7 separate regions of the Homo sapiens genome follow, and all the other regions are linked to region 1. Evidence: promoter capture Hi-C in 16 types of primary human blood cells and fetal thymus (Javierre and others, 2016). All regions are on one chromosome and are shown on one strand. Each heading gives the region's core, a stretch centred on a gene start or on the middle of the fragment in contact. The rest is flanking DNA. Distances are from core to core; before and after follow the strand shown. Region 1 holds the start of GMCL1 (germ cell-less 1, spermatogenesis associated). Region 2 holds the start of FAM136A (family with sequence similarity 136 member A). Region 3 overlaps PCYOX1 (prenylcysteine oxidase 1). Region 4 overlaps PCYOX1 (prenylcysteine oxidase 1). Region 5 overlaps GFPT1 (glutamine--fructose-6-phosphate transaminase 1). Region 6 overlaps NFU1 (NFU1 iron-sulfur cluster scaffold). Region 7 overlaps TIA1 (TIA1 cytotoxic granule associated RNA binding protein).

Region 1 (2,733 bases), core at 222-2,721:
TTGTGCTGGCAAATTCTGTGTATGCAAGCTGATCCCTCTGCAGCCATTATTCTCCGCCTCCCACCTCCACCCCAAGCTGCCTCGGCTAGCCTCTCTCGGTTCAGATTTCTCATGCATGAATCAGACATTAGTCCACGGGGACCCTCAAACTACGTATACTGCCAATGGGAGTCTAAATTGGTACCTTGATGCAATCAACCCAGAGAGCAATTTGGTAATAGCTAACAAAGTTGCAGATTTCGCAGCAAATTCACTTTTGGGAATCTGCTTGGTGAATCCATTGCACATGATGTTCATTGCTGCTCTGTAAGGCCGTTAAAGTAGAAATAACCTCTCTCACTAAGGAATGTAAAAACAAATATGGGTCAGTCATACAATGAGCAGTGAAAATTATCTAGCGATTGACCAAATGGATAAATCTTGAGAGTATAATTTTGAGAGAGGAGAAAGGTGCACAATGAGAGGTACAACTATGATTCCATTCCATGATATGTCTAAACATGCAAAAGAAAATATTATTTATGGGTATGCATATAAGGACATGCATGGACATGATATACAACATTCTCAGCACAGTGATTGCCACTGGGGAGGGAGACAGAATGAGATGGAGGAGGTACGCAGGGGCTTCTGCCTATATGTATTGTTCTATTTAAAAAAGAATGAATCATTGATTACACCTCAATAAAGCTGGGAGGAAAAAAGAATGAAAGCAAGTCTGATAAAATTTCAAGCTAGTGGTCGGTCCACAGGAATCTGTATTACTCTATTTGAAATATTTTCATTATTTTACTTAAAAAGTAACAGAAGGGAGTCAGGGAATGAACGCTGGCTGTCCGGAGTCCATCACAAGAGCTGCTACTACTCCAAGCAGACACTAGTAAATTTTGCTAGGGCCTCCTGAAGGCACTTTTGAGTCCAGACAGTCATGGTGCCAGACCCTATTCGGACATCCCACTGGCACTTGAGAGGAAAGGAAAGGAGTGCCGGGAACGTTCCCATAACTTAACGGGTTCCATTCACGTCTACAGCAGGGGAGGGCTCATGTTAAGGAAGCCCAGGAATCCAGCATATCGCCTCATCCTAGGGCCCCCTCTCACAGGAGGCCACGCCCAAGCAAGCAGAGCGTGGCCCCAGCAAGCGCCGAGCTCCCGCAAGGAGACCAAATAGCTTCGGGGTTTTGCCACTAGCTTAGCACAGGCCCATAAGCACCGGGGACTCAAGGCACCTTTGTAGAAACAATGAGTGACTGGAGTCCCAGGTCTTGCCACTACAGAGGCGCGTATGAACCACGGTTTAACACTACGTCTACGCCGAAGTTCGGGTTAGTCAGAGGCCACGCCCACCGCAGGCCCGAAAACACCAGCCTGCACTGGCGCGCCGGATTGTGCGCAGGCTCCACCTGCCACGCACGCACGCCTTGCCCCGCCCCTTCCGGAGGCTCGCCGTACGCATGCGCCCTCCGTCCCGCGCTTTGTTGCGAAAGCGAGGGGGCGAGGTGCTGCGGTGCTAGAGCGCGGCGCGACCGGACGCTGCGGGCGGGGAAGAGGATGGAGACTGTGGCGTCCGCTGCAACGGTTGGGGCTGCGCGTGAGAAGGTGGCGGTGTAGGCACCTGCGCTCGGGGAAGGCTGGCGGCGGCGGCCGAGCCATGGCGGGAGACCCCCTTCTCTGGGCTCCCTGAAGTCTCGGGGAGCCGTGACCCATGGGATCGTTGAGCAGCCGGGTGCTGCGCCAGCCAAGACCAGCCCTTGCCCAGCAGGCGCAGGGTGCCAGGGCGGGGGGCTCGGCCCGGAGGCCGGACACTGGAGACGATGCGGCGGGCCACGGATTCTGTTACTGTGCGGGCAGCCACAAGCGCAAGCGGAGCAGCGGGTCCTTCTGCTACTGTCACCCTGACTCGGAGACGGACGAGGATGAGGAGGAGGGGGACGAGCAGCAGCGGCTCCTCAACACCCCTCGAAGGTACGTGGGGGCACGCACCCGCGCGGACCCGGACCCGCACCTGTTGGGCCTGGGGCCGAGCCGGCGCCTCGTGCGCTTGCGGGGTGCAGCGCTCCCCAGCCTATGGAGAGGGGACGTGCCCTTGACAGGGTGAATGTGGAAGCCGGCCCGATGCGGGGCGGACTGGGGAGCGCCTTGGGAGACGCCAGGTGTTCCGCATTTTCAACCACAGACGCTTCCAGGGTGTTGTTACAGCCCCAAGATGAGGATGAGAAACGCCAAGCCCGAGCTCGCGTCTCGTTAAACCTTAGAGACGCCCGGCTGGCTGGCCTTCCCAGTCCACCTTTGCCCTCTCAAGTGGGTAGCCGCAGAGTAAGTTGTTTTGCATCCGGTTGCCTTAGTACAGACACTAAATGTAATCTCTGAAATAGGCACTCTTATTGTCGCCCACTCAGTGGAGGGTAAGTAATTGCACACAGGAGTTCTTGTTAATTGTAAAGGTGAAGTTTATCAATAGTGTACATTTGTTCCTAACTAGGAACAGAGTCTGTGCAAGTTTCTAGTAGTTGATGAAGTCGTTGACCGTGGATGTACTGTATGTAGGGCGGTGCTGCTGCAGCTTGTTTAACCCCTTTTTTTTTTTTTTTTGGATGAGTTGAAAGATGGAATATTGACTTGTGACCTGGAATGTAGTTTATAGGTAGAATATATGCTTACACAAACAATTTGGTTTTTCTGCTTTTGTTTTTAAAGGTTATTTGGTAGGGTCACACATGAAATTTTTTAAATG
Region 2 (2,700 bases), core at 181-2,680, 470 kb after region 1:
ATAGGAAATGATGTTCAACTTAAGGCACTCGACCGCCAAGACTTTTTCCAAAATTTCAAACCCTGTGAAAACTGGTTGGCCATCAGTATCACAACTGTTAACAGAACCAAGACACTAAAGCCAAGAGTTTTGAACAAATGCTTGTCATCTCCTGCAAAAGTCTGTATCAAGGACTACAGTGCTCTGTCTAGGATATTTCTCACCTGGAACTTCTCCAGCTCACTGGTGACCAAAGCCTGGGCTTGAGCCAGAGGCACATGGCAGCGCTCGATGCACTGGTGCACCTGCTTCATGGAGGCCTGGCTGTCCTCACAACAGCTGGCGCTGCACCGGAACATGAGACCCTGGGGAGAAAGGGCAGAGAGGTTAGGTAGGAAAGTCTCTGGGGACAGAGATGACTATGGAGCACTACAGGAGTTAGAAGGCCACGTGGATATTTGCACCTCTCTCTCCACCTTCTGCTTTCACCTTCCCTGAGAATAGACACCAGGACCTTAAAACCACCACTGGGGAAAATTATCCTCAATGTCTAGTGTAGTGTTTCATGGTGTCCTTGCTGCTAGCTCATCGGCACCTGTTGCACCGATGGTTGGGTGAACAGAGGTTCGCCCGAGTGGGTGAGGGTAGGGTGGTCTGACGAAGCCAAATTCTGAAAACCAGGAGCCTCTTCCATGGGGTTCAGAGGTCAGCAACCTAGCAATACAAATTCCACCAGAGGGCAGCCGACCCACTAATCAATGACTCAAGGGGCACTATCTGGGAAACGCATACTCCGTGAGAGAAGCAGGACCGAAACACACAGAGGCATTGCGGGGCTCAGAGAAGAACAGTGTAGAAACCCGCGCTGTGTGAAGCGAGGTTGGGCGCAAGAGAAGCAGGCATGACCTGGCCAACGGGGAGGCCGGAAGTCCTCGCCTTTCTGGTCTTTCACGTTGGCAGCGCCTCTGCTGGGCCTCGGGCCGCTCACCTGCGGAAGGGGCCGCGTAAGAGGGGAAGGTGGTGGGGCGAGCGCCTGCCACCAGGGGCTTCCCACCTGCCGCCGAGGACGCTCCTGCCCCGGGCTGGAAGGGGCGGAAAACAGCCTCGCGCACGGCAAGGGCACACGGATTTCATCCGATCCGCCAAAGCTTCCGAAGTCCTGTCCGAGGCCGCCCCGGCGACCCCAGGGCCGCCCACACCCGGTCTGCGGGGACGCGGCTGCAGTGCAAGGCGTCGCGTGGTGGCTGAGGGAAGGGCCCGGAACCCACCCGCTGAGAAGGGGGTCCTGGTTCGGCCCCAGCCCCGCTACCTGCATCTTCCGGATGTTCTCTCTTTCCAGACTCTTCACCATGGACTCCACCGCCTCCTGCACCCGGAGCTGCTGCAGCTCAGCCATGGCGACCCCGCGCTGCCCCGCGGCGCTCCGCGCCGGCGCCCATATGGAATCGGCGTACGGGCCCGCCCCCTCACCGCCCTTCGCCGCCCTTCGCCGCCTGCCCTTCCAGGGCCCACGCCCCCCCCTGGCGGCCGAACGGAGCCACTGCATGCTGGTGTCCGCGAGCCCACCGCCCTCCTCCCGCTTGGGAACCGGTCACTGGGACACCTGCCCTGCGGCTGCTGCCTGCCTTTCCTCCTCCCTCCCATGTCCCTCCCTTTACATTCTTTAAAATTATTTAATGTAATTTACATACAGATAAATGCCCAGATCTTAGGCGTGCTGCTTGATGAGTTTTAACAAACCCTGTCCGCCGGGCGCAGTGGCTTACGCCTGTAATCCCAGCACTTTGGGAGGCCGTGGGCAGGTGGATGACCTGAGCTCAGGAATTTGAGACCAGCCTGGCCAACCTGGCGAAACCCCGTCCCTACTAAAAATACAAAAATTAGCCGGGTGTGGTGGCACATGCCTGTAGTCCCAGCTATTTGGGAGGCTGAGGCAGGAGAATTGCTTGAACCCGGGAGGGAGAGGTTGCAGTGAGCCGAAATCACGCCATTGCACTCCAGCCTGGACGACAGAGTGAGACTCTGTCTCTAAACAACAATAAAAACCCAAACTCTGTCTTGTCCCAATCTCCGTCCTTTCTACCCCATCTCCCCACCCCTGCCCTAACTGGTCTGCTTCTGTCACTGTAGATTACATTTTCTCTTTCTAGAATGTCATATGTATGTTATTATCCAATAAGTACTCCTTTTCTGTCTGGCTTTTTTAGCATATTGCTGAAAAATACTTAGCCTAATGCTTTCGAGATTGAGCTGTGTTGTTGGTTCTTTTTTGCTGCTGAGTAGTATTCTATTGAATGGACATACCACATTTGTCGTTGTTGTTTTTTGAGACAGGGTCTTACTCTGTCACCCAGGCTGGAGTGCAGTGATGTGGTCTCGGCTCATGCAGCCTCCACCTCCCTGGTTCAAGTGATTCTCATGCCTCAGCCTCCCGAGTAGCTGGGATTACAGGCATGTGCCACCACGTCTGGCTAATTTTTTTTTTTTTTTTGTAGACACGGGGTTTCACCATGTTAGCCAAGCTGGTCTCCAACTCCTGAGCTCAAGGGATCCACACACCTCGGCCTCCCAAAGTGCTGAGATTGCAGGCATGAGGCATCGGTCCCGGCCCACATTTGTTGATCCATTCCCCTGCTGATGGGTGTTTGGGTCTTTTCCACTTAGTAGCTATTATGAATAAAGTGGTGACTATGAACATCCTTGACCATTTTTTTTTTCTTT
Region 3 (2,700 bases), core at 7-2,506, 440 kb after region 1:
TTTGTATTTTTTTTGTAGAGATGAGGTTTGGCCATGTTGCCCAGGCTGGTCTTGAATTCCTGGGCTCGAGTGTTCCACTCACCTGGGCCTCCCAAAGTGTTGGGATTACGGTTGTGAGCTCCTGTTCCCAGCCTTGTTTTTTTTTTTATCTGTGGCTTGCTTGAGATGTAGAGAATTGCCCTTTGAGAAATTAAGAAATTACTTTTTTTTTTTTGAGATGAGTTTCACTCTGTCACCCAGGCTGGAGTGCAGTGGTGCAATCTCGGCTCACTGCAACCTCTGCCTCCTGAGTCCAAGCGATTCTCCTGCCTCAGCCTCCTGAGTAGCTGGGATTACAGGCATGTGCCACCATACCCAGATAATTTTTTTATTTTTAGTAGAGATGGGGTTTTACCATGTTGGCTAGGCTGGTCTCAAACTCCTGGCCTTAATTGATCTGCCCGCCTTGGCCTCCTAAAGTGCTGCGATTACAGGCATGAGCCACCGCACCTGGCCTAAGAAATCACTTTTGAAGTGAATTCAAGGTATTACAGAACTGGGAAAAAGAACCAGTGAGGGGATACATAGGTTATACTGTTTTTGACTTTAAAAAATAATTTACGGGCCGGGCGCGGTGGCACACGCCTGTAATCCCAGCACTTTGGGAGGCCAAGGCAGATAGATCTTGAGGTCAGGAGTTCGAGACCAGCCTGGCCAACATGGTGAAACTCCGCCTTGCTAAAAATACAAAAATTAGCTGGGTGTGGAGGCGCAGCTAATGCCAGCTACTTGGGAGGCTGAGGCAGTAGAATCGCTTGAACCCAGGAAGCGGAGGTTGTGGTGAGCCAAGATCAAAGTATACACAAGGTGGAGAAAGACCTATGTAACAGTAGTAAACCATGACACTCGAAAGAGGGCTCAAGCTTGTGGTAGGCAATACTCGAAAACAGTGCATTCATTCATTCTCTGCTGTTGGAGGTACTTGAGTGGAAATCCTGCAGCCCCTGACATCAGCACTAGCTAGCTTAATTTCCACTTCTGCACATACATTTATGTAGTTGTTCTGGTTGGATGCCATTCTTAACTAATTTTTTTTTTTTTTTTTTTTTTGAGACCAAGTCTTGCTCCGTCACCCAGGCTGGAGTACGGTGGTGCAATCACAGCTCACTGCAGCTTTGACCTCCTGGTCTCAAGTCATCTTCCAGCCTCAGCTGGGACTATAGGCATGTGCCATCATGCTTGGCTAATTTTTTAAATTTTTGTAGAGACAGGGTGTTGCCATGTTGCCCAAGCTGATCTTGAACTCCTGGGCTCAAGTGATCCTCCCACCTTGGCCTCCCAAAGTGTTGGGATTACAGGCGTGAGCCACCGCGCTCAGCCGGATGCCATTCTTTACTCCCAAGTCCAACCTCTTATCTCACTTTTTCAGCAAAGCATTTCCTTAATGCTTCAATCAACATTCATCTTTCTTTTCAAACATCCCTTATTATACGGTGCACACTGTGTGCTTGTGTTCTATGCTACGCACAGTAACTAGAATGTAGTAGATGTTTACTCAGATGTTTGTGGAATTTAAATCTCTGGTCTGCTGATGGCTTCCTGTTGAGATATCTTGGCTTGTAGACTAGGTTAAAGCTTATTCTTCTCTCTCAAGTTAGTGCATTTCTGGGGACTTGTAAGATCCTTAACACTTCTTGATCTGAGACTGATAGACTCACAGGGAAAGGCTTTATAAACACCCTTTCTTCCTTCCAGTTACTCCTACCAAATATTTTGAGTCAATTTTTGTTCTTTCATTTCCCAAACCCACTCTATCTTGAATCCCATCAGCCTTTAAAATACATCCAGTATTCCACTACTTCTCTCCAGGATTACTGCTACCACTTTGTTCCAAGTCACCACCACTGTCTCTTGTCTGGATTGCTAGAGTAGCCTCCTATTATAGGCTGAATAATCCTCTCCCCTGCTGTCTGCCACAAGATGTCCATGTCTTAATTCCTGGAACCTGTGAATGTGTTACCTTTTGAGGTAAAAGAGACGTTGCAGATATGGTTAAGGATGGGTAGATTATTCTGGATTATCTAGGTGGGCCCAATATAATCACAAGGGTCCTTAGAGAGGCAGGAGGATCAGGGTAGGTAGTAGGAGATGTGATGATGGAAGGAAGAGATTGGAGTGATGCTAGGAAGGGGTGTGCGTCCACGAGCCAAGGAATGCAGGTGGCCTGTAGAGGCTGGAAAAGACAGTCTTCCCTCAGAGCTTCTAGAAGGAACCAGCCTTGTGCACACCTTGATTTTAGCCCGGAGAGACTGACTTTGGTCTTCTAATTTACAGAACCGTAAGATTATAACTTTTTTTTTTTTTGTTAGTATTTATTAATCATTCTTGGGTGTTCTTCGGAGAGGGGGATTTGGCAGGGTCATAGGACAATAGTGGAGGGAAGGTCAGCGGATAAACATGTGAACAAAGGTCTCTGGTTTTCCTAGGCAGAGGGCCCTGCCGCCTTCCGCAGTGTTTGTGTCCCTGGGTACTTGAGATTAGGGAGTGGTGATGACTCTTAACGAGTATGCTGCCTTCAAGCATCTGTTTAACAAAGCACATCTTGCACCGCCCTTAATCCATTTAACCCTTAGTGGACACAGCACATGTTTCAGAGAGCATGGGGTTGGGGGTAAGGTCATAGATAAACAGCATTCCAAGGCAGAAGAATTTCTCTTACTA
Region 4 (2,700 bases), core at 134-2,633, 450 kb after region 1:
GCCATTGTGTTTGGTGTTTTACAAGAACTTTACCATACTGGTGTGTAGTCCATTCTGTACAGTTTAAAAGTGATTCACGATTTGCAGGCTTTTTATCAGATCACAAAAAAATCAGTCTTTAAGCATTTGCTTGGTAAGGTTTCTTAAGATTAGGTTTATAATACAACCATCTGTAATGTATCTCTCGTTTGAGCTTGTGGGCCATACAATTCATTAACTAGATGAATACATTGTGGACAGCATCCTCACTACCCCTCTCTACTCACTCACAAAGAACCATGATACACTGGAATGTTTTTCTCTGGAATCCTCTTTCTACTCTTGTATTAAAATTTTTCCCCACTTCATGATTATATTCAAAATAAACAACTACATCATTACTTCTTGTCTTTTGCTTCTGTTGTACTATATTTGGAATGTAGATGTACTTGGGAAAGTCAGGCTAGATCAAAGTTACTATTCTTACAAGTTTTGAAAATTAGTGTTTTAGAAGAAACTCACTCATGTTTGTAACTTCTTTATCTGTTCAGTGTTGAAAGATGATGGACAGAAGGAATCCTTGCCATGTTTCACATTTAATAAGATTCTTTCACTTTAATGCATAAAACCCTTTGAAATCAATGTCAACCAGGAAAATTCATGTTAGAAAAAACTGGAATGAGAGCTGATATTCTATATTCAGAACATCTGAGAAAGCATTTTTGACTATTACAAAAGTTTATTTAACAAAAAGTCTAATATGAAAATGTACATGACCTAATTTTTACATCATAGTAAAACAGGCCCTATGGAGAGAGGACATGGGTTTCTCTGCTGAACAGCCATTATTTATACTCGTTCCAAGGCTTCTAACATGATGATACTATTTCCTCGTATTACCTAAGAAAGAGAAAAATAAATTTGAAAAGAACAACTCAGGTAACAGACATAACTATGATGATTTAAGAATTTTCACCAAATCATTAATGGTTTTTTAATATTACATGTCGGTTTGCAAAGCTTTGTTCAAGCCACAGGGACACCAAACAACTCTAAGCCCTTTATACGACAGACATCTTTTGGATTTAAGGCTAACAATTTGCTTTATGAGATTCTAATGCCAAGTCTCCAATGACTAATTTCACCTTTTTTTTTGAGACAGTCTCACTCTGTTGCCCAGGCTAGAGTGTAGTGGCGCAATCTCGGCTCACTGCAGCCTCTGCCACCCAGGTTCAAGCAATCCTGCTTCAGCCTCCCAAGTAGCTAGGATTACAGGAGCCCTGACCACGCCCAGCTAATTTTTATATTTTTGGTAGAGACGGGGTTTCACCATGTTGGCCAGGCTGGTGTCAAACTCCTGACCTCAAGTAATCTGCTTGCCTCAGCCTCACAAAGTGCTGGGATTACAGGCGTGAGCTACTACGCCTGGCCCTAATTTCACCTTCTAAAATGCAGGACTCAAATTTAAATGCCCATCCCTGACTCTATGGGATCCAAAAATTAATGAGTAAAATATGTACAGTAGAGTATGTTAGGTACAGTTTGGAGGTATGAGATCATTTAGGGAAGAAACCAGGATGGGAAATTGTGAAAGGCATGCTTTATGAAAATGACATTTTACCTGGGTCTTGGAAATTGGGCAGAATTTTGAAAAGGAGATTGTAGGAAATTCTAGACAGAACTAAGATGAAGACAAAGTATGAGAGGATAAGGAAGTAATCTAATTTGAATGCAGTAAAAAGTTCACGAAGAGAATCAGGAAACAAAGATAGTTGGCATTCAATCTTGGAAAGCTTCAAATGCCAATCTTAGTGTTTGGAGGACATCAGAAACTAACAATGAGCCAGTGAGAGTTTCACTTGGGGGAATGACAACCATAAGTGTCCCTGCAACAAGATATTATATAAATACGCCGAAGTTTGAATAGGACAGAACCTAGAGGCAGAAAGAGAAGTTATAAAAAAAAGGCCCTAGGAGAACAGTGCTTGACCTAGTAGATAAGCCATAAATGAAGATAAGAATATTTATCGGGGGTGTGGTGGCTCACGCCTATAATCCCAGCACTTTGGGAGGCCAAGGCGGGTGGATCACCTGAGGTTGGGAGTTCGAGACCATCCTGGCCAACATGGAGAAACCCCCATCTCTACTAAAAATAAAAAATTAGCCGGGTGTGGTGGCACATGCCTGTAATCCCAGCTACTCAGGAGGCTGAGGCAGGAGAAATCACTTGAACCCGGGAGGCGGAGGTTGCGGTAAGCCAAGATAGCGCCACTGCACTCCAGCCTGGGCAACGAGCGAAACTGTCTTTTGTCAAAAAAAAAAAAAAAAAAAAAAAAAAAACAACAAACCAAAACCAAAACAAACCAACAGACAAACTTATCAGAGTATAGATGAATCAGCTGGTAAATGAATTCAAGAGGGGTAGAAAAATAAGCGAAACTGGAAGGCTAGGGGACTAAAAACAGTAAGTCCCTAATAGACTGGAGATCATCATAATCGATAGATCACCCATCAGTCAAGTAGAATTGGATAGGTGAATGGAGGGGTACGGGAGGGAAAGAATAGGTAATGTAGGGGAGAGAAAGGTAATGTAATAATTTGAGGTGTTTATTAGAAATGGAGGCATTCCAAAAAGATTCAAAGTGGAGCTATGCTTATAGGCAGCTAGAGTAAAAGTAGTTGTAACTTATTCTTTTCTCACAGTATCATGCTTGTTTTATT
Region 5 (2,700 bases), core at 63-2,562, 450 kb before region 1:
ATTCAAAAATAGAAATTGAGTTAACTGATATCCCAGAGATACCCACAAATAGCATTCCCAACCTCAAAGCACAGCAATTAAGATAAGGATAAACAACATGCTGCTTAAGGATATTGCTAAGGTAAGAGTGGTAGCGGCACAGCAATGTGCAGCTTCCAACTTTCAATGGCTACTCATGATATAAACACTAGAGGGCAGCAGAAGAGTCTCCAGACCAATCTGCACCCATTTAATTCAGAAGAATGAGTCCGGGGTTTTTGTTGCTACTGCTGTTCCTTCATGAAGTATCTGTAATATGAATAAACGAATAACCCAATTGTAAATCAAACTTTGCACTCTTCACCTATGGGTCACTGATCTTTGAGAAAGATTAAACACGTACAGATAACTATCAATTAAGTATTTTAACCAGGTCATTAAAAGACAATACACAGCACACAAATCTTTTCTAAAACAATACTTTAATACAAATGTGGGCCAGGTGCAGTGGCTCACGCCTGTAATCCCAACTTTGGGAAGCTAAGGCAGGCGCATCACCTGAAGCCAGGAAATCAAGACCAGCCTGGCCAACATGGCGAAACCCATAGTTACTACTAAAAATACAAAAATTGGCCGGGCATGGTGGCGTGCACCTGTACTCCAGCTACTTGGTAGGCTGAGACGGGGAGAATCACTTGAACCCTTGAACCCAGGAGGCGGAGGTTGCAGTGAGCCGAGATCGCACTGCTGCACTCCAGCCTGGGAGACAGAGCGAGACTCCATCTCAAAAGAAAAAAAAAAAAGTGTGAAAAAAACTGAATCTGAACTAGTTCCCACCACTGTGACTGCATCAGCTAGAGTCCACTAAAGGAGGATACAATCTAGCTTATTTGAAAACAGAAGCCTGTCGAGGATTGTTTGCAGATTGTCCAGAGCTGCCAAATTCTAAGCACATCCAGAAAAACTCACTCCTAAACTCTCTCTTTTTTAAGAAATCTAAGTCTGATAGTAAAAGTAAAAATGTAAGCCAGATGATAAAAATGAAAGTTGGTAAAAACATAAAAATGTAAGCCGGATGGTAAATGATTTAAAGATTAAAGATGTATATGAATGTGTTAAAACTATTTAAATGCTAATGATATAAAATTGTTTTTAAGACAATTTATAGACTCTACTTTTTTTTAAAGATTAATGCGGCAGGGCTGGGTGGCTCACGCCTGTAATCCCAGCAACTTGGAGGCCAAGGCGAGTGGATCACATGAGGTAAGGAGTTCAAGACCAGCCTGGGCAACACGCTGAAACTCCGTCTCCACAAAAATACCAAAATTAGCCAGGCATGATGGCAGGTGCCTGCAATCGCAGCTACTCAGGCGGCTGAAGCAGGAGAATTGCTTGAACCTGGGAGGCAGAGGTTGCAGTGAGCTGAGATCGTGCCACTGCACTCTAGCCTGGGCAACAGAGCAAGACTCCGTCTCAAAAAAAAAAAAAAAAAAAAGATTAAGTAATGCAATATTAAATTCACTGTTTTTAATAATGTAACTCAACAACAGCATTCAACTTTAATAATACTTCTAACTCCAATCTCCTTGGTTTATAATGGCTCACTATATGAATCTTGAGAGCTTAAGAACATTTTGGCTGGGCACAGTGGCTCACACCTGTAATCCCGACACTTTGGGAGGCCGAGGCGGGCGGATCACGAGGTCAGGAGTTCAAGACCAGCCTAACCAACATGGTGAAACCCCGTCTCTACTAAAAATAAAAATAAAAAAAAAAAAATAGCCAGCTGTGGTGGCACGTGCCTGTAGTCTCAGCTACTCGGGAGGCTGAGGCACGAGAATAGCTTGAACCTGGGAGGCAGAGGTTGCAGTGAACCTAGACTGCACCACTGCACTCCAGCCTGGGCAACAGAGCAAGACTCCGTCTCAAAAAAACAAACAAAGAAACAAACAAAAAAGTAACAGAGCTAGAAGAAGGAAGGGGATTAGCCTCAGACATACCTGATGAGGAAAATGGGAGCTAAGAAGTTGAACCTGTCAGTTTCATAGCCCTGTCCCTTGATAGCACTACTAGCCCAAGACATTCCACCTGCGGGGATACCGGGTTAACTGTAATCTTGGGGTGCCCGAGACAATACTGGCAGCAATTCATCAGGTACACAGGGCATGTTCACAAGGGAGGCATTCACAACTCACAATGATGCTTGTTAGAGCAGAAATCGTTAGTCTGACCTCTATTTTCAGGTCTTTGACTTGTCTTATCAAAACTCCCAATAAACAGTTTTTTGTTTTTTGTTTTTTTGAAACAGAGTCTCGCTTTGTCGCCAAGGCTGGCGCCATCTCAGCTCACTGCAACCTCCACCTCCCAGGTTCCAGCAATTCTCCTGCCTCAGCCTCCCAAGTAGCTGGAATTACAGTGGCCGCCGCCATGCCCGGCTAATTTTTTGTATTTTTAGTAGAGATGGGGTTTCGCCATGTTGGCTAGGCTGGTCTCGAACTCCTGACCTCAGGTGATCCACTCGCCTCAGCCTCCCAAAGTGCTAGGATTACAGGCATAAGCCACTGCACCCGGCCTAAACTCCCAATAAACAGTTCTTAAGTAAGGTAATGACAAAAGCCTAATATCAACTTTCCGCCACTCTTCAGTAATTGCTCTAAGAGCACACACAGTAGCTGTATAAGCATAGATTCTCTACCCCCAAATCAGCATGCACTTCACAAG
Region 6 (2,700 bases), core at 174-2,673, 430 kb before region 1:
GTGAGTAATTCTTAGTCTGGCCAAAAGGCCAACAATGCCTCAAGGATCCAGACCCTTTTTTTTTTTTTCCTGAGACAGAGTCTTGCTGTCGCCCATGGTGGAGTGCAGTGATGTGATCTCGGCTCACTGCAACCTCCACCTTCCAGGCTCAAGTGATTCTCAAGCCTCAGACTCCCTAGTAGCTGGGACTACTAGGTGGCATGTGCCACTGCACCAGGCTAATTTTTGTGTTTTTAAGTAGAGATGGGGTTTCACCATGGTGGCCACACTGGTCTCAAACCCTTGGCCTCAAGTGATCTACCCGCCTGGGTGTCCCAAAGTGGTGGGATTACAGGTGTGAGCCACCGTGCAAGGCCAAGGATCCAGACCCTTTCTTTGCTCTTTGCTATTCTCAGTGGACCACCTTTTAGTCATGATTACAAGTTGACTGTCATTGCTTTGAACATCACACTCTACAGTGTACCAAGCAGGAAGAAAAGGAATGGATGGAGGAAAAAAAAAAGAGCCTTCTTTCCAGAGATTAACTCACATACACACTCTCTTAACTAGGAAAGACAATCTTTCCAGAATTCTCCAATAGACTTTCTCTTCCAGTTTACTGGCCAGAGCTAGGTCATATGGCTACCCACAGACTAATGACTGGAAAAGAAAAATGGAGTTAAAGTGACTGGTTTAATCATAACTATCCCCTGGGACTGAGGTGAGACCTACTGAGAGTGCCTTCCTTAACAAGAAGTGAGGGTGTATGTTGGGTAGGCAACCAAGAGTTTCTGTGGCACTCTCTATACTACCACTGCCTACTCATGCACCATTTTCACTTTATACTCAAGCCATACTTAGTTTCTTGAGGTTCCCAAATACATTTCACACTTACAATTCTGATTATACTGTTCTTATGCCTAGAATGTTCTTCCCACACCTTTCCTCCTTGTTCTTCATGGCTGTTGCTTTTGTAGAAAATCTTTCCTCTCTTCCTCTTTGGCCTCTCAATTGAATAATTTCCTGTTTTTTTGTTTGTTTGTTTGAGACAGACTCTCGCTCTGTCACCCAGGTTGGAGTGCAATGGCACGATCCCAGCTCACTGCAACCTCCGCCTCCCAGGTTCAAGGGATTTTCGTGCCTCATCCTCCTGAGTAGCTGGGATTACAGGCACATGCCACCTTGCCTGGCTAATTGTTGTATTTTTAGTAGAGACAAGGTTTCACCATTGGCCAGGCTGGTCTCGAATTCCTTACCTCAAGTGATCCACCCACCTCAGCCTCCCAAAGTGTTGGGATTACAGGCATGAGCCACTGCGCCAGGCCAATTTCCTCTCTTCTAATAAACTAATCCTCCATCCAATTCAGCCACTTATTTCATGGCCACATACAAGATCTGCCATTACTGGCATCTCATCCACGATGTCAATTTCCTGTAGCTTCAACTAAAGGGCAGGTTAAGTTGCCTTGCTTATGAAGCAATTCCCAGTGTCTAAATTAAATTCATACATGATATCTCAAGGAATGAATTCTCCAACCCTACTATTTGGTTCAGTGAACCAAAGGATAAAAGTAAAAACTTCAATTCCCAGCACTCACAACTGCTAGAGTTCTTCCTGTTTCCATCACTATCTTAATCTCCTTAATTTGAGGGACTAGAATTCCAGAGATGCAATGCATCACAACTATTTTTCCCATCTTTCCTTTCCCTGTATTTTCTGTTAACTGCAGTCTCTGAATTACTGTAGAAAAATGAGAGAGGAGGCTAAATCACTCTTTTGGCTACCTGAAAAAGCAGTACCCCTAGAGTACAAAAATAATGATGCACACTTCTGGCATGGTACAGATTTTGGATCTCTGAGTCAGAAGCCAGTGGGAGGACCAAAGCAGCTTCTTCTCTTTTCTTCAGCAATTCTGATTGATAAGGTAAAGGCTGGGCATGCTGAGGCAGTTTTTCTAATTTGGCCATCTCCATCTTAACCAATAGAAACTGTGTCCAGATTCTGGGAGTTAGTTTTCAAGTTTTTCACCTTTTTTTTTTTTTTTTTTTTTTTTTTTTTTGAGATGGAGTCTCGCTCCGTCCCCCAGGCTGGAGTGCAGTGGCGTGATCTCAGCTCACTGCCACCTCCGCCTCCCGGGTTCAAGCAGTTCTCCTGCCTCAGCCTCCTAAGTAGCTGGGATTACAGGCGCGTGCCTCCGCGCCCGGCTAATTTTTGTATTTTTAGTGGAGACGGGGTTTCACCATGTTGTTCAGGCTGGTCTCAAACTCCTGACCTCGTGATCTGCCCACCTCGGCCTCCCAAAGTGCTGGGATTATAGGCGTTAGCCACCATACCCGGACATTTTTGATTTCTTTTTTTTGGTCTTAAGCAGTTCTTTGCTACTTAATTGGGGGCTAGTAGCCAGATACCATTTTTAAAACAGACTTGTTTAGCTGTTTCTTAAGCTAAAAACTTCAGTAAAAATAGTTTTAGATATTTCACAAAAAGCTATTTTAGAATATTCTAAAAAGCATTCTGTTTCTTCCTGTATGGAAAAAAGTAAATAAATTAGATGGGGGGAAATGTATTTTAAACTCCTTCACACATATGCAAAGAAAGAGCCATGGGAAATGAGGGACAAAAATAAAAATATCCTTGGATAAAATCCACGTGTACAGAAGATGATTCAAGAGGTTATAAATAACTCATATGAGGTAAAGCAAACATGCAATATTTATATA
Region 7 (2,700 bases), core at 162-2,661, 410 kb after region 1:
TTTAAATTTCTCTTCATCTTTCCCCATCTTTCCCTCCTGTCTTTCTCTATGGGTACATGGATTTTTTCTCCTTTATCCAAAGGCATACCGATATTAAATGTGATAGAATAAAAGAACATAACTCTTTGTTGATTTCATCTATATAATATGCAGATGATTTTGCAGCATCAGAACAAAGGTCTGACAACATTTTAAGATCTAAGACAACAAATCAAAGCCAATTGGATAAATATATATTTTTGAGACAGTCTCCCTCTGTCGCCCAGGCTGGAGTGCAATGGTGCAATCTCGGCTCACTGCAACCTTCGCCTCCTGGGTTCAAACAATTCTACTGCCTTAGCCTCCTGAGTAGCTGGGATTACAGGCGCTTGCCACCATGTCCGGCTAATTTTGGTATTTTTAGTAGAGACGGGGTTTCGCCATGTTGGTCAGGCTAGTCTCGAACTCCTGACCTCATGATCTGCCTGCCTCGGCCTCCCAAAGTGCTGGGATTACAGGTGTGAGCCACTGTGCCCGGCTAAATAATTACTTTTAAAAATATTAAGTAAAAAAAAGTTGAACTGGAATACAACAGGAAAGAAGGTAACAGATACACATACACACATACATGATTGTCTTTTCTGGAGAAAAGAAAACTGAAAGTTTATAGCAGGCTGGGTGCAATGGCTATACCAAGACCCTGTCTTTCAAGACAAACAAACAAACAAACAAACAAACGAAAAGTTTACAGAAAAGAGAGACCATGGGACAAAAGGATTTCTCTTTAACATAGCCTTTCCCATTAAAAAATTTAGGCCAGGTACAGTGGCTCATACCTGTAATCCCAGTACTTTGGGAGGCCAAGACAGGTGGATCACCTGAGGTCGGGAGTTCTAAACCAGCCTGACCAACATGGAGAAACCCCATCTCTACTAAGAATACAAAATTAGCCAGGTGTAGTGGCGCATGCCTGTAATCCCAGCTACTTGGGAGGCTGAGCCAGAAGAATTGCTTGAACCCGGGAGGCGGAGGTTGCAGCGAGCCGAGATCGCACCATTGTATTCCAGCCTGGGCAACAAGAGCAAAACTCCGTCTCAAAAAAAAATTTAAAGTCTTTTCCCCCCAACCAGGAGACAAAGACTCCAGGGAAATGGGGTAAATGTTCCCTAAATGTCTTTTTATACCTATTATGATTCAGGGTTAACACCAATTAGATGAATGAGTGTGTGTGTGTGTGTGTGTGTGTGTGTGTATGTGTGTGTGTTTAATACATTGTCTCATAAATAGGAATTGCCTAAATACAAGAAAAACTTGAATGATGACCTTTAAAAATAAAGTTAAAAATACTTTCACTGTACCAAATGCCTATTATTTTTAAACCTGTTTTCCAATTTAATTGTAAGAGCTGAATTTATTAGCCAACCAGTTGACACCACATATAAACATTTCTGATGCCTCAATGCACCTGAAAGAGCCCATATATATGTTCCCATCTGATCTAGAAATAACTAGTTCTATTGTCATCTTCCATCATGTAATAAAACAAATTAAATTCAGCTGTCAAAACAGGTTCATTACAAATTCACTAAAATCCCTATTAACTTAGAATATGGTAAACTAAGACTATATTTAGACTACAGTAAACTAATAATTTATACTATATTTAGACCATGGTAAACTAAGAATTCCTTCCAAGCAATGGCTTTAAGTAATGTGTAAAAAAAAAAAGAATAAAGTTAACTAAGTAAAATACCCTTACATCCATAATCATTTTGCAGTTTTTACAAGGTCCAATCTGGCTAAAGAGTTGCAGAATTAGAGCTTCTGTCACATCTCTGGAAAGGTTACCGACGTATCTGAAACACAAAGAGAAACAATTTACCTTTTTTTTTTTTTGAGACAGAGTTTCACTCTTGTTGCCCAGGATAGAGTGCAATGGCACGATCTCGGCTCACCACAACCTCCGCCTCCAGGGTTCAAGTGATTCCCCTGCCTCAGCCTCCCCGAGTAGCTGGGATTACAGGCATGCGTGACCACACCCAGCTAATTTTGTATTTTTAGTAGAGACGGGGTTTCTCCATGTTGGTCAGGCTGGTCTCCAACTCCTGACCTCAGGTGACCCGCCTGCTTCAGCCTCCCAAAGTGCTGAAATTACAGGTGTGAGCCACTGCACCCGGTTTTTTTTTTTAAGAGAAATAGTCTGGCTATATTGCTCAGGCTGCTCTCAAACTCCTGGCCTCAAGCAAACCTACTGCCTTGGTCCCCTGAGTAACGGACTAGAGGAACCACCACACCCAGCTCAATTTACCTCAATTTATTTTTTTTTCAGACAAGGTCTTCTGGGTTGCCCAGACTAGAGTGTAGTGGCGCAATCTTGGCTCACTACAATCTCCACCTCCTGGGCACAAGGGATTCTCCCACTTCAGCCTCCCAAGTAGCTGGGACCACAGGCGTGTGCCATCATATCTGGCTAATTTTTTTACAGTTTCTGTAGAGAAGGCGTTTCACCATGTTGCTGAGCTGGTCTCAAACTCCTGGGTTCAAGCGATCTGCCTGCCTTGGCCTCCCAAAGTGTAATCTTAAAGATTACAGGCATGAGGCATTGTGCCCAGCCCTTGATTTACCATTTTTAATTTGCTTATTCTCCATCGGTTTCTAAAGTTGTTCATTAAAAATTAAACTTGAGAAATAGGCAGATCTTTGCCTTAAACTATAATATTT

What was found. Contacts are between HindIII fragments. The CHiCAGO score rates a contact against its expected background, and 5 or more counts as called.
Region 2: the fragment with the promoter of FAM136A here is called in contact with the fragment with the promoter of GMCL1 in region 1 in 8 of 17 cell types (neutrophils, fetal thymus, naive CD4 T cells and 5 more); the score reaches 19.1 in neutrophils.
Region 3: a fragment that was not itself captured here is called in contact with the fragment with the promoter of GMCL1 in region 1 in 2 of 17 cell types (neutrophils and total B cells); the score reaches 5.8 in neutrophils.
Region 4: a contact is called between a fragment that was not itself captured here and the fragment with the promoter of GMCL1 in region 1, in 5 of 17 cell types (total CD8 T cells, neutrophils, fetal thymus and 2 more). The highest score is 5.7, in total CD8 T cells.
Region 5: a contact is called between a fragment that was not itself captured here and the fragment with the promoter of GMCL1 in region 1, in 2 of 17 cell types (M2 macrophages and naive CD8 T cells). The highest score is 5.7, in M2 macrophages.
Region 6: a fragment that was not itself captured here is called in contact with the fragment with the promoter of GMCL1 in region 1 in 1 of 17 cell types (total B cells); the score reaches 5.2 in total B cells.
Region 7: a contact is called between a fragment that was not itself captured here and the fragment with the promoter of GMCL1 in region 1, in 2 of 17 cell types (naive CD8 T cells and neutrophils). The highest score is 5.9, in naive CD8 T cells.

Annotation. Positions count from the first base shown.
Region 1 is chr2:69,828,189-69,830,921 of GRCh38, forward strand. GMCL1 (germ cell-less 1, spermatogenesis associated) reads left to right here and starts at 1,472. Exons shown (of 14, transcript NM_178439.5): 1 at 1,472-1,964. The coding sequence starts at 1,705. LOC124906021 (a long non-coding RNA gene) reads right to left here and starts at 1,343. Exons shown (of 2, transcript XR_007086846.1): 1 at 1-1,343. RefSeq lists enhancers at 508-1,429, 824-913, 1,430-2,350 and silencers at 1,324-1,553, 1,934-2,013, 1,961-2,136. The HindIII fragment of the contact is 7,336 bases long and covers 1-2,733 here.
Region 2 is chr2:70,300,637-70,303,336 of GRCh38, forward strand. It overlaps FAM136A (family with sequence similarity 136 member A), which reads right to left and starts at 1,431. Exons shown (of 3, transcript NM_001329752.2): 1 at 968-1,431; 2 at 204-344. The coding sequence starts at 1,375. RefSeq lists enhancers at 1-716, 717-1,665 and a silencer at 1,351-1,620. The HindIII fragment of the contact is 2,364 bases long and covers 1,126-2,700 here.
Region 3 is chr2:70,264,132-70,266,831 of GRCh38, forward strand. The region is part of intron 3 of PCYOX1 (prenylcysteine oxidase 1); the gene reads left to right. Among named protein-coding and RNA genes, the nearest start is that of PCYOX1, 7.3 kb to the left of the region's middle. The HindIII fragment of the contact is 712 bases long and covers 901-1,612 here.
Region 4 is chr2:70,280,806-70,283,505 of GRCh38, forward strand. PCYOX1 (prenylcysteine oxidase 1) reads left to right here. Exons shown (of 6, transcript NM_016297.4): 6 at 1-380. SNRPG (small nuclear ribonucleoprotein polypeptide G) reads right to left here. Exons shown (of 4, transcript NM_003096.4): 4 at 557-879. The coding sequence ends at 829. Among named protein-coding and RNA genes, the nearest start is that of SNRPG, 12 kb to the right of the region's middle. The HindIII fragment of the contact is 773 bases long and covers 998-1,770 here.
Region 5 is chr2:69,375,754-69,378,453 of GRCh38, forward strand. All of the region lies in intron 1 of GFPT1 (glutamine--fructose-6-phosphate transaminase 1), which reads right to left. Among named protein-coding and RNA genes, the nearest start is that of GFPT1, 10 kb to the right of the region's middle. The HindIII fragment of the contact is 2,784 bases long and covers 1-2,700 here.
Region 6 is chr2:69,393,428-69,396,127 of GRCh38, forward strand. It overlaps NFU1 (NFU1 iron-sulfur cluster scaffold), which reads right to left. Exons shown (of 8, transcript NM_001002755.4): 8 at 2,699-2,700. Among named protein-coding and RNA genes, the nearest start is that of GFPT1, 7.6 kb to the left of the region's middle. The HindIII fragment of the contact is 6,902 bases long and covers 1-2,700 here.
Region 7 is chr2:70,234,341-70,237,040 of GRCh38, forward strand. It overlaps TIA1 (TIA1 cytotoxic granule associated RNA binding protein), which reads right to left. Exons shown (of 13, transcript NM_022173.4): 2 at 1,739-1,835. Among named protein-coding and RNA genes, the nearest start is that of TIA1, 13 kb to the right of the region's middle. The HindIII fragment of the contact is 3,544 bases long and covers 1-2,700 here.